Linked DNA regions of Homo sapiens: regions 1 and 3 are each linked to region 2. Evidence: promoter capture Hi-C in 16 types of primary human blood cells and fetal thymus (Javierre and others, 2016). All regions are on one chromosome and are shown on one strand. The core of a region is centred on a gene start or on the middle of the fragment in contact, and the rest is flanking DNA. Distances in the headings are between cores, read along the strand shown. Region 1 has its middle 6.6 kb from the start of CDCA7. Region 2 holds the start of MAP3K20 (mitogen-activated protein kinase kinase kinase 20). Region 3 overlaps CDCA7 (cell division cycle associated 7).

Evidence for each region. The method cuts DNA at HindIII sites, captures the fragments that hold promoters and counts their contacts. A CHiCAGO score of 5 or more calls a contact.
Region 1: a fragment that was not itself captured here is called in contact with the fragment with the promoter of MAP3K20 in region 2 in 1 of 17 cell types (neutrophils); the score reaches 5.2 in neutrophils.
Region 3: a contact is called between a fragment that was not itself captured here and the fragment with the promoter of MAP3K20 in region 2, in 1 of 17 cell types (neutrophils). The highest score is 5.3, in neutrophils.

Annotation. Positions count from the first base shown.
Region 1 is chr2:173,346,677-173,349,938 of GRCh38, reverse strand. No RefSeq gene overlaps it. Among named protein-coding and RNA genes, the nearest start is that of CDCA7, 6.6 kb to the left of the region's middle. The HindIII fragment of the contact is 2,231 bases long and covers 342-2,572 here.
Region 2 is chr2:173,074,310-173,077,488 of GRCh38, reverse strand. MAP3K20 (mitogen-activated protein kinase kinase kinase 20) reads right to left here and starts at 1,643. Exons shown (of 20, transcript NM_016653.3): 1 at 1,487-1,643. RefSeq lists silencers at 1,079-1,818, 1,899-1,948. The HindIII fragment of the contact is 14,354 bases long and covers 1-3,179 here.
Region 3 is chr2:173,366,225-173,369,570 of GRCh38, reverse strand. It overlaps CDCA7 (cell division cycle associated 7), which reads right to left. Exons shown (of 10, transcript NM_031942.5): 8 at 3,139-3,288; 9 at 2,285-2,421; 10 at 574-1,937. The coding sequence ends at 1,907. Among named protein-coding and RNA genes, the nearest start is that of CDCA7, 13 kb to the right of the region's middle. The HindIII fragment of the contact is 4,671 bases long and covers 1-3,346 here.

The DNA.
Region 1 (3,262 bases), core at 208-2,707, 270 kb before region 2:
ACAAGCAGAATAGCACAGAAATTAACTTAAGGTGGAAAAGATGGAGGAAAGAGGCAAGGGTGGGTCCTTTGATTCTATTATTAATGCTTTCTTCTTTTCTTTTTCTTTTTTTTTTTTTAAAAAAAGGCTGGGTCTTGCTATGTTGCCCAGGCTGGAGTGCAGTGGTGTGATCATAGCACATTACAGCCTCCAACTTCTGGCCTCAAGTGATCCTCCCACTTCAGCCTCCCACATAGCTGGGACTATGGGTGTACATAACTGCACCCAGCTATCATTAATGCTGTTAAATTAAGTTTAGCCTAAAGCCGCCTCCTTACATATTTTAAGTTCAGCCTAAAGCTTCTCCATACACAATGAACTGTAACCCAACTGGGTATATAAACAGACTAACTTACTCTTGTACCAACCACCATGTTTTGGCCAGTCAAGGGTGACCAACTGTTCAAGCTGTGTTCAAATAAGGCAAACCCTGAGCTGTAACCAATCCAGCTGTTGGTGTAATTCACTTCTGTTTTCTGTACCTCACTTTTTCTGTCCATAAATCTTTTTCCACCATGCAGCTGCTCTGGAGCCTCTCTGAACCTACTCTGGTTCAGGGGATCCCCGATTTGCAAACATTCTTTGCTCCATTAAACTGCTAAATTTAATTTGTCTAAGGTCAGTGCTTTAACAATGCTTTCTTGAAAAATAAAAACCATGGGAAGCAAATATGGCAAATTGTTAAATGTGACAAATGCCAGTGATTAGTACATGGGTGTCTTTTACATGTTTACTTTCTGTGCTTTTTTTTTTCTTTTTTTTTTTTAATCTGAAACATTTAATAATTTTAAAATATTTAAGTTTTGGAGAGTTTGTTCTGACAATCAATATCAATATATTTATTGTGTTAAATATACAGTTCCTTTACAGGGTCCTATAAATAGGAATGCAAGTTTGTCATGCAATTTTAGATGCCTCATAAAGGTTTTAAGTCACTGTATTAATCACACACTGGTAAATATTTTCATTTTAAATGAAAGACACAAAATGAATAAGCATGGAAAATCAGTGTCCAGGGAAAGATGATGGCACAGGCCACAGCAAAAGGTAAAAGGAAATGACATTTTATAAGTACATACTTACACAGACACTACTTGATATGAGGGCTGTTAATACAACAGGTACTCAGTAAATACTTATTATATTTATAAGTATTATTTGTATAATTTAATTTAATTATTTTTTAAGTTCCAGGGTAAATGTGCAGGATGTGATGTGCAGGTTTGTTACACAGGAAAATCTGTGCCATGGGTGGTTTGCTGCACCTAGCAACCCATCACCTAAGTATTAAGTCCTGCATGCATTAGCTATTTTTCCAACTAAAGTGGTTGTAGGTGGAATTTTATTTTATTTTTACATTTTTTCTTTTTTGAGACAGGGTCTCACTCTCACTCAGGCTGGAGTGCAGTGCTCAAGCCATGGCTCACTGCAGCCTCAACTTCCTGCGCTCCAGCAATCCACCTACATCAGCCTCCCAAGTAGCTGGGGCCACAGATGTAGGCCACCACATCTGGCTAATTTTTCTATTTTTTGTAGAGATGGGGGTTTCGTCATGTTGCTCAGACTGGTCTCGAACTCCTGGGCTCAAGCAATCCGCCTGCCCTGGCCCCTCAAAGTGCTGGGATTACAAGCATGAGCCACCATCCCCAGCCCTGGAATTTTAAATCTTCAAAATATTCTAAAATATCAATCTCTTGTTAAAGAGCTTTGAATTCCCTGGGCTACTACAAACCCTAAGAATTCTGTGTTTCTCTATACCTTTTATTCACCTTGCACAAAGAATTCCATTTCCTATTATTAAGTTTGAAACTTGACTGTGAGGTTCAGAGCACTTACATAATGAGGTAAGTTAAACTTCAACTCAGAATGACTGGTTTTCGGACAAAGAATGCAACCGCTAATAGCATGTATCATTTTTAGATGAGATTTAGAAACAATGCTAATGTTTCATGTGCTGCTCTCGGTCCCATGCACCCATCTCTCAGGCGGTATAACATGAACCCAAGCGCCCCTGTAAACCAGAGACCTTCAATAGACCAGATACCCCTGGAGACAAAGGGCTGGAGCAATTTCACTGTGTTTGTGGATATAGACAGTTTGCAGTCTGTCAGGTCACAAATCTCTGTTTTAAATAACCCCTAATTACAGATTTACGTCTCCAGTGCCTGCTTTCAGGATGCATAAAGGCAATATAGCTAAAAGGCCTAACGTTAGGCTTCAATTGTCAAAAGCTGCTCTGTTGGAGGGCCCAGCCCATTATCACCCTGGCTGTTTGGTTCACAAATGCTGGCTCTCCAAGCCATATTGGTATGTTTGTTTTGCATTGTATGTCAACACTGTTTTAAGTAGATCAGTTTGCTGACATCTGACACCTGATTAGAAAAAGGAATATGGAAAAATGAGTGCAAATCTGACCTTTTTTTGGCAAGAAGAAATATTTGTTTTTCCGTGGATGAACATTGTCTATTGTGAAATATATTAACTGCTAGTGTTAAAACATCATTAAACACTTTGCACAAGGGAAAGTCAAGCTTTGATTACTGAATCAGTCAGTTCCAACACTATGGAAGCTGAATTACAGCCAAAACCTAACTCAGCTTACTTCTTACCATCCACAGTTTCCCTGTCACTTGTTCACCTTTCCATAATTTCTTTTTTCCATTTGGCAAAGTTTTTGTCTGTTTTTATGTAAGAATTTTTCATTGTTTTTAATTTGATCATTTTTTTCTCTGGAAACACCCATAAAAGGTGTTAAATGTCTTTGTTCATCACTTAGGCAACTTATTCTAAATTGTCCTAGTTGTGAATTATATAAATCATTTATGTCTTCTTCAGATCTGTTCCTTTCAAGCAACTCTTTGGAAAGAGAATTGCTGCAGAGAGAAGAACTTTATTAACTAAATGGAGACTTAGGGCTCATTTGTAGGTGGTTTAATTTCTGAAGTAAACCAATGCAAGATATTGGTAGGGGGTCCCAGGGAAGAGGCTAATCTGCACATTGTCCTATCAACCTAGAATTCAAAATTAGTCCCCCAGCAGGCCTCAAAAGTTAAACACAGGGCCAGGCCCAGTGGCTCACGCCTGTAATCCCAACACTTTGGGAGGCTGAGGTGGGCGGATCACCTGAGGTCAAGAGTTCCAGACCAGCCTGGCCAACATGGTGAAACCCCATCTCTACTAAAAATACAAAAAATTAGCTGGGCGTGGTGGCAGGCATCTGTAA
Region 2 (3,179 bases), core at 394-2,893:
CAATCTCCTAAATCTCTCACTATAGTAGCAGGAATTTAAAACAAAGACTCTACAAATGACCATAACCATAATTAAAATGCAGCCATCACTTTTTTTTTTTTTTTTTTTTGGAAAATTGAAAAACAAGTGAAATTTCACTGTGGAGATAGGCCTACTACAAAGAGGACATTAACTAGCCTTGAATCACTTGTTTATTTTTGTCTTTAAACGTGTTTGGAGGTTTGGATCCACTAAATCCTAGCTGTTCATTTCAACGAAGGTCGAGGAAGCAAGAAGGCTCTTCCAAAACAGCTTCGGGGTTAAAGAAGGAGTACAGTTTTCAACAATCTTAAGTCAAACATCCTCAAATTCACTCTGTAAGACGATTCTCACACACCAGTATCGAGAGCTGCTTACTGTACCATACTTGGAATGGGCCCCTAAATTGTGTTGCTTTCATTATTACAGAAACTAACAAAAATAGTAATTAAGTTCCCCATAAACAGTACTTATGCGCGATCTCAAAGCGCATCAGAAACATAACATTTTCAGCGATCTAACAGAGATAACTTTTTAAAAAAATTTTTTAGGCAATCGGATGTCATCTAGCCAGTCCTGAATTAAAGTTTTCTGAAAGCTGTCATGGGCAAGCGAGGCCAGACGAGGCGACGGCCTGGGTAAGCACTTCTGGGCCTGGTGCAGGTCTGGGAGCCCACAAAAAGCCGCTGCCTGAGGGTCGCCAAAGGAGACATCCCCGGCTCCGGTGGGAGGAAAGGGGGAAGCCCGAGAGGGCGGGCGCTTCATGCTGCCCAAGCCCGGGGCAGGAAGGGCGGGGAGCGGTGGCTCTGGATACATTTACGCATGTTTTTAAAACTAATCTTTAGTGTTCATTGTTCCTGCTGGTTATTCGCATGGCCTAATTGTGTGAGGAAAACAGAATGAAGGAAAATGGATGGGAAGCAACACCGCTCGCGGTCGAGTTCTTAGAAAAGCAGAAGTTCGTCGTCCCTCCTCGCACGCACAGCGAGTGCTGGGAAGTGGCCTGCACCCTACCCTGATTTGGGGGCCTCGCGGTTCGCCTCCCGACAGTGCCCCAGTCACCCGCTGCTTGGCCGGCTCTGCTGCTCGCGGAGCCCCTGCCCGTGCCGCACGCCCGGGACCGCGAAAGCCGGGGCCGCTCCGGCCTGCGCCCGCGCCTCCAGGCGCCAACTTCTCCATGGGACCGGCCCGAACTCTCCCGAACCGCACTTGGCGGCGCCGCGGCCAAGGTCCCGCGAGGACTTCCCGGGCGCCGCGAACGCTCGCTCGCTCGCCCGCCCGCTCGCTCCGGCCGCCGCCGCCGGGCGGGCCCTGGGTCGGGGAGGGGAGCCCCGAGGAGCCTCCCGAGGCCGCCTAGACTCCCGGGCTCCGGCGGAGCCTCGGCCCCGAGACGCAGGGACGACTCGCGAGCGCGGCGGGCCTCGCCCCCTCCCTCCCCGCCCTCCGCGGGCTCCAGCCTGACCCCTACCTGGCTCCCGGGCGGGGCGTGAGCAGCAGCCGGGGGCGCGGAGGCCCCGCGCGCGACGAGGGCGGCGGGGGTTGGGACGACAGCGGCCCGCGCGGCTCCCACGTTTCCGCTGCAGTTAGGAGTTGAACATTCCGCCTCTCTGCACGGCGCCAATGAGGAAGACAGTCACGGCAACAGCACCACCTACCTCCCGGCGCGAAACGGCTGGGCCGCCCTCCCCTCACACGCGCGGGCGAGCGGGGCGTGGGGAAGGCGCTCGGGCCTCCCTGGCCTGCGCCCGGGGGGCACCATCCGCCCCGCGCCCCGGCACCCGCCGAGGCCCCCAGACACACCTGCCTTGCTGTGGGGGGAGGGCCGTGGGGGTGTTCCCCCTCGCCCCCAGCACCTTAACTCATCTTTTTGACAAATTAACACCACCTGCTACTCCTTCAACTCAGTCTTCAACAAACAGGCGCTGGGGACGCAAAGAAATAGAGGCTGTTTTGTGCCCCGCAAGAGTTAATTCTCTAGTTGGGAAAGGCACAAACGTAGAGATTTCTGGGAACATAGGTCTGAAGGCTGCCTCTCTAGAAAGATCAGTAGGTACCTCTGGAATTTTGAGGAGGGGCCGTGGTCTGCTGCTCTAGTTGCTAATTTTAACAGAGCAGAATTCAGAAGAGGAGCCAGAGTCCGTTACAGGCCTAAGCCAAAGGTGGAGGTGGGCGTTGGGAAGAAAAGAAATTTCTGATTGGGGAGGATGGTTCTGTGAAGGAAAAGTGAGAGGAGGTTGCAAGGGCATGGGCAACATTATTCAGGATTTTGAATTTGAATTTTATTATCCATGGACACTGGGAGCTGTGAAAAATTAGAATCAAAGGGGTGAAATGGGGGTTTGTGATTCTGTTTAAATGGTAATTTTGAGAGAGTAGTCCACAGTAGTTGTAGGTTGGGTTGCTAGGATGGAACCAGGATGAGTAGTAGATATTGTCACCACCCGGTTGTGGGATCATGAGGACCTGAGTTAGGATGTAGGAAATGGAATTAAAAAGAAGAAATGGGCTGGGCATGGTACCTGTAATCCCAGCACTTTGGGAGGCCAAGCTGAGAGGATTGCTTGAGACCTGGCTGGGTAACACAGTGAGACCTCATCTCCAAAAAAATCAGAAAATTAGCCTGATGTGGTGGCATACATCTATAGTCCCAGCTACTCGGGAGGCTGAGGTGGGAGAATCGCTTGAGCTGGGGAAGTCGAGGCTAAAGTGAACCACAGTCGCGCCACTGCACTCCAGCCTGGATGAAAGTGAGACTCTGTCTCAAAAAAAAAAAAAAAAAAAAAAAAAAAAAAAAAAGAAGAAATGGAATTGAGAGAAATATTAAACGTTTCAGCAAGAGGCCACAGAAATTGGTAACCCACAAGATTTAGAAGAGAAGAAGAAGAGAGATGATGCCAAGATCTCAGACCTGGATGACTGGAAGAATGATGGTGTCATTGACAAAAATAGGAATACGTGAAAGGGAAGCTGGCTTCATGTTGAGTTTGAGGTCATAGGAGTAAAAACAGGTAGAGATGCAGCAACTGAAATATGAAACTGAAATTCAGGAAAGAGGTCAAGAGTGAAATAGAAAATTTGTAAGTCATTCAATAGGTTAAAGATATGAAAGTTGAGGGATGAATGAGTAGAGGTTAAAAAACAATTTATTAGTCTGATTAATT
Region 3 (3,346 bases), core at 847-3,346, 290 kb before region 2:
CCATATTGTCTCTGCTTATTTAACAACCCTTTCCAAATGGAAAAAAAAATACTTAGTTCATATGCCATACGAATAAACTCTGCAGCAGCATGTAGCCCACAGGCTGTAGTTTGCCAATCCCTGGTCTAAAGAATTGGACAGCCGGTGTGGTGGTGGCTCTTGCCTGTGACTTTGGGAGGCCAAGGCAGGAGGATCCCTTGAGCCCAGGAGTTTGAAACCAGCCTGAGCAACATAGCAAGACCTGTCTCTACAAAAAATAAAAAAAGAATTGGGCTATGAGAGCTTTTAGACCATGCCTTTTTTGTTGATTCTCACAGTCCTGGAACAAGCCTCAAGGCACAGCATGCATTTAATATATGTTTGAATGGTTGATAAAAGTAAGCCAGGTATTGCAAAGCACATCATAAAGGAAAAGAAAACACTACAAAACTTCATGGGCACATATTGTTTTCTATCAGGCACTGTGGTTGTCTCCGCCCGTTTTCTGATCACAGGTATTAGTCCTGTCACCTAGTGAGGTCCTTTCAAACAAGCTGACCTTAGAACTTCAGAAACTTCAGTCAAAAGGGAGACTTTTTTAGAAAAGGTGGAAATGGCCTTTTATTTAAATATGAGGAAAAAATTAGAATTAAGTACAGTAAGATTATTTTTAAAAAAGCAGACAAGTTAGAACAAACATTTTATTATTAAAATAAACTTTTGTATAAAAGCATTACAGATCAAAAGCTGTATTTACACTTATCGATTCAAGGTCCAATTATGCATCAAACATTGAATGGCACAGCAATGGTTTACATATGCAAGTAAATTGGACATACAAACACTTAGATTCCACCTCTACCAAATACCTTGATTAATGCAAAGAGGAGGGGGAATACTGACACAGGAAACCTGCCCAGAAACTAGACTGGCAGAGATGTCAGGTTAACAAACTGCTAAAAGTTACATCTCCAAAAAGGCACTTATCATTGTTATAAAAGTGCTTAAAATCTAAACTTGAACCTTGTGCCTGGTTTATAAATTTACAAGAAACTGCAAAGAACCACAGACTAGTTTTTAATATCAAGTTTCCATACAAAATTGTCCAAGAATTTATTTGCAATACCTTACATGTGAACTGAAATAAACTTTGCAAACTACAATTATACTAAAGTTTTATACTGAAAATTCAAATCAGCTTACTCATAATCTCCAGATAGCTCTTCCATCATTATTTTAATTAAGTATTACATTGCCCACCAACCTTTGAATTATGATTGTGTAAGCTGGACGCACCACTTACCCTTCGGGCAGAAGAAATTAGGAGAAATTAAGTCTCAACTGTGACAACAACTTGTAACATAAGCGCAATACATGGGATTGAGAGACATCAATCTGCAATAATTACCTAATTTTTCCACATGGTTTTAAGACTTTTGTGCCTTGATTCTATTAAAAATTTCAACTAGTATGAATGCTAAATCATACTCGTTTTTGTGTAAACAAGTTAGAAGGCTCTTCTCTGAAATTCAATAGATCTAGTTAGTTAATACTATTATTGTGTTTCCAAGTGCTTAGGTTTTATGAGGGCTATTTCAACACCAAGTAAATAAAATATGCTTTCATAAAACTGTAATTTAAAAGAAATTCAGAAACTAAGCGGTTGGAGAGGAGCATTGGAAATAGAGGGGGATGCTGTGAGATGGGGGTTGGGAGCAGAGAAGAAACTGCAGGAGGGCAAAGTGTAACTAGCAATATACCTTCTGTGATGCTCCAGAAACACATGTCTGCTAAGATTAACTTGATTGGAGTTTCTTATGAAACAGGCTGATCATCAAGATTTTTAACTCAGGTTTCAGTGAAAAAATTGGAAACTTTTACAAGAAAGATTTGAGAAGTAGAAGGCAGGCAGCAAATTTTCCAGATATTATGCTTGCATTTCAAATTCCTGTTTCAGGCTGTGAAAAACAAAAGGAAATGTGTCAGGACATAGTTTTCAACCAAAGAATTCTCTTTTGAAAGCCTAATTCATTTTTAAAACCATTTTTATTGAGTTATAACATCACTATGGTCAAGTGTGCGCATCTTCAAGTATATTACCTGACTTTTTCATACACACCCACCCACCCGGGTTACCACCACCTAAGTGAAGACAGAAAATGTTCCCATCCCTTCCAGTGTGCCCCGTTCCAGTCAGTCTCCACCCCGCCAGAGATAACCACTCTTCTGACATCTATCATCTTCTCATTAAGACATAAATGAATATAAAATTCAGATGTGGAAGGGAAAAAAAAACACCCACTACCTTTTCAAGTAGGCATGCACATTCCCAAAGCCATGATATTTGGCTAAATACACAAGGACCCCAGTCGCACACCGTCCATCTCGCTGCCGGCAGAAACTGCAGTTGCAGATTCCTCGACAAGGCGGGCAATGCCAGTTCTGAAGGAGGATTGTCAAACGGCACAATTAAGTTAAACCTTACCTCCCCCACCAACTTATCTACATTACATTTAACCCCTTCTTTATGGTTAAAAATTTATATGATTAATAGGCATTAGTCATGCCTAATGTTTCCTAATGCCTAATGCTTCCTTCCAGGAGTGGAAGTTACAAGCAGCTACCAGGGATAAATGGAGCAGCAACTTCCCAGGGACAGTTCAGACCCGAGTATCGTAGAAGCGGCTCATGCCTATGCAGCACCATCCCTCTGAATTCATTTGTGTTCTGAATTAAGAGCACCCTGGGCCGGGCGTGGTGGCTCACACCTGTAATCCCAGCACTTCAGGAGGCCGAGGCGGGTGGATCACGAGGTCAAGAGATCTTGTACCACCACACCATCCTGGCCAATGTGGTGAAACCCCGTCTCTACTAAAAATACAAAAATTAGCTAGGTGTGGTGGCGCGTGCCTGTAGTCCCAGCTACTTGGGAGGCTGAGGCAGGAGAATCGCTTGAACCCAGGAGGAGGAGGTTGCAGTGAGCTGAGATCGCGCCACTGCACTGCAGCCTGGCGACAGAATGAGACTCCATCTTAAAAAAAAAGAAGAGCACCCCATAACAGAAAGGGCTCCACCCCTTCACCAATGCCTTTTTCTGGCCTCATCACAGTTTGTGGCTGACCTTCAAGCCCACAGGACCAACCCCTGGCAGGCACCTACCGGATCCAGCAGAGCATCCCTGACCTCTTCACCATAACGGTTTCGAAGGCAGGGGCCACAGAACTGGCCTCGAACGCCCCAGCAGTCTGGGTTTCTGCAGTTTGTTTTGGTATCAATAGTCTTCTGACGGCATTGATGACAAGTAGAGCCCTACAAATAAGCCATTAAGAAAAAAAACAAAAAAAACCACTGTTTTTCAACAGAGGAA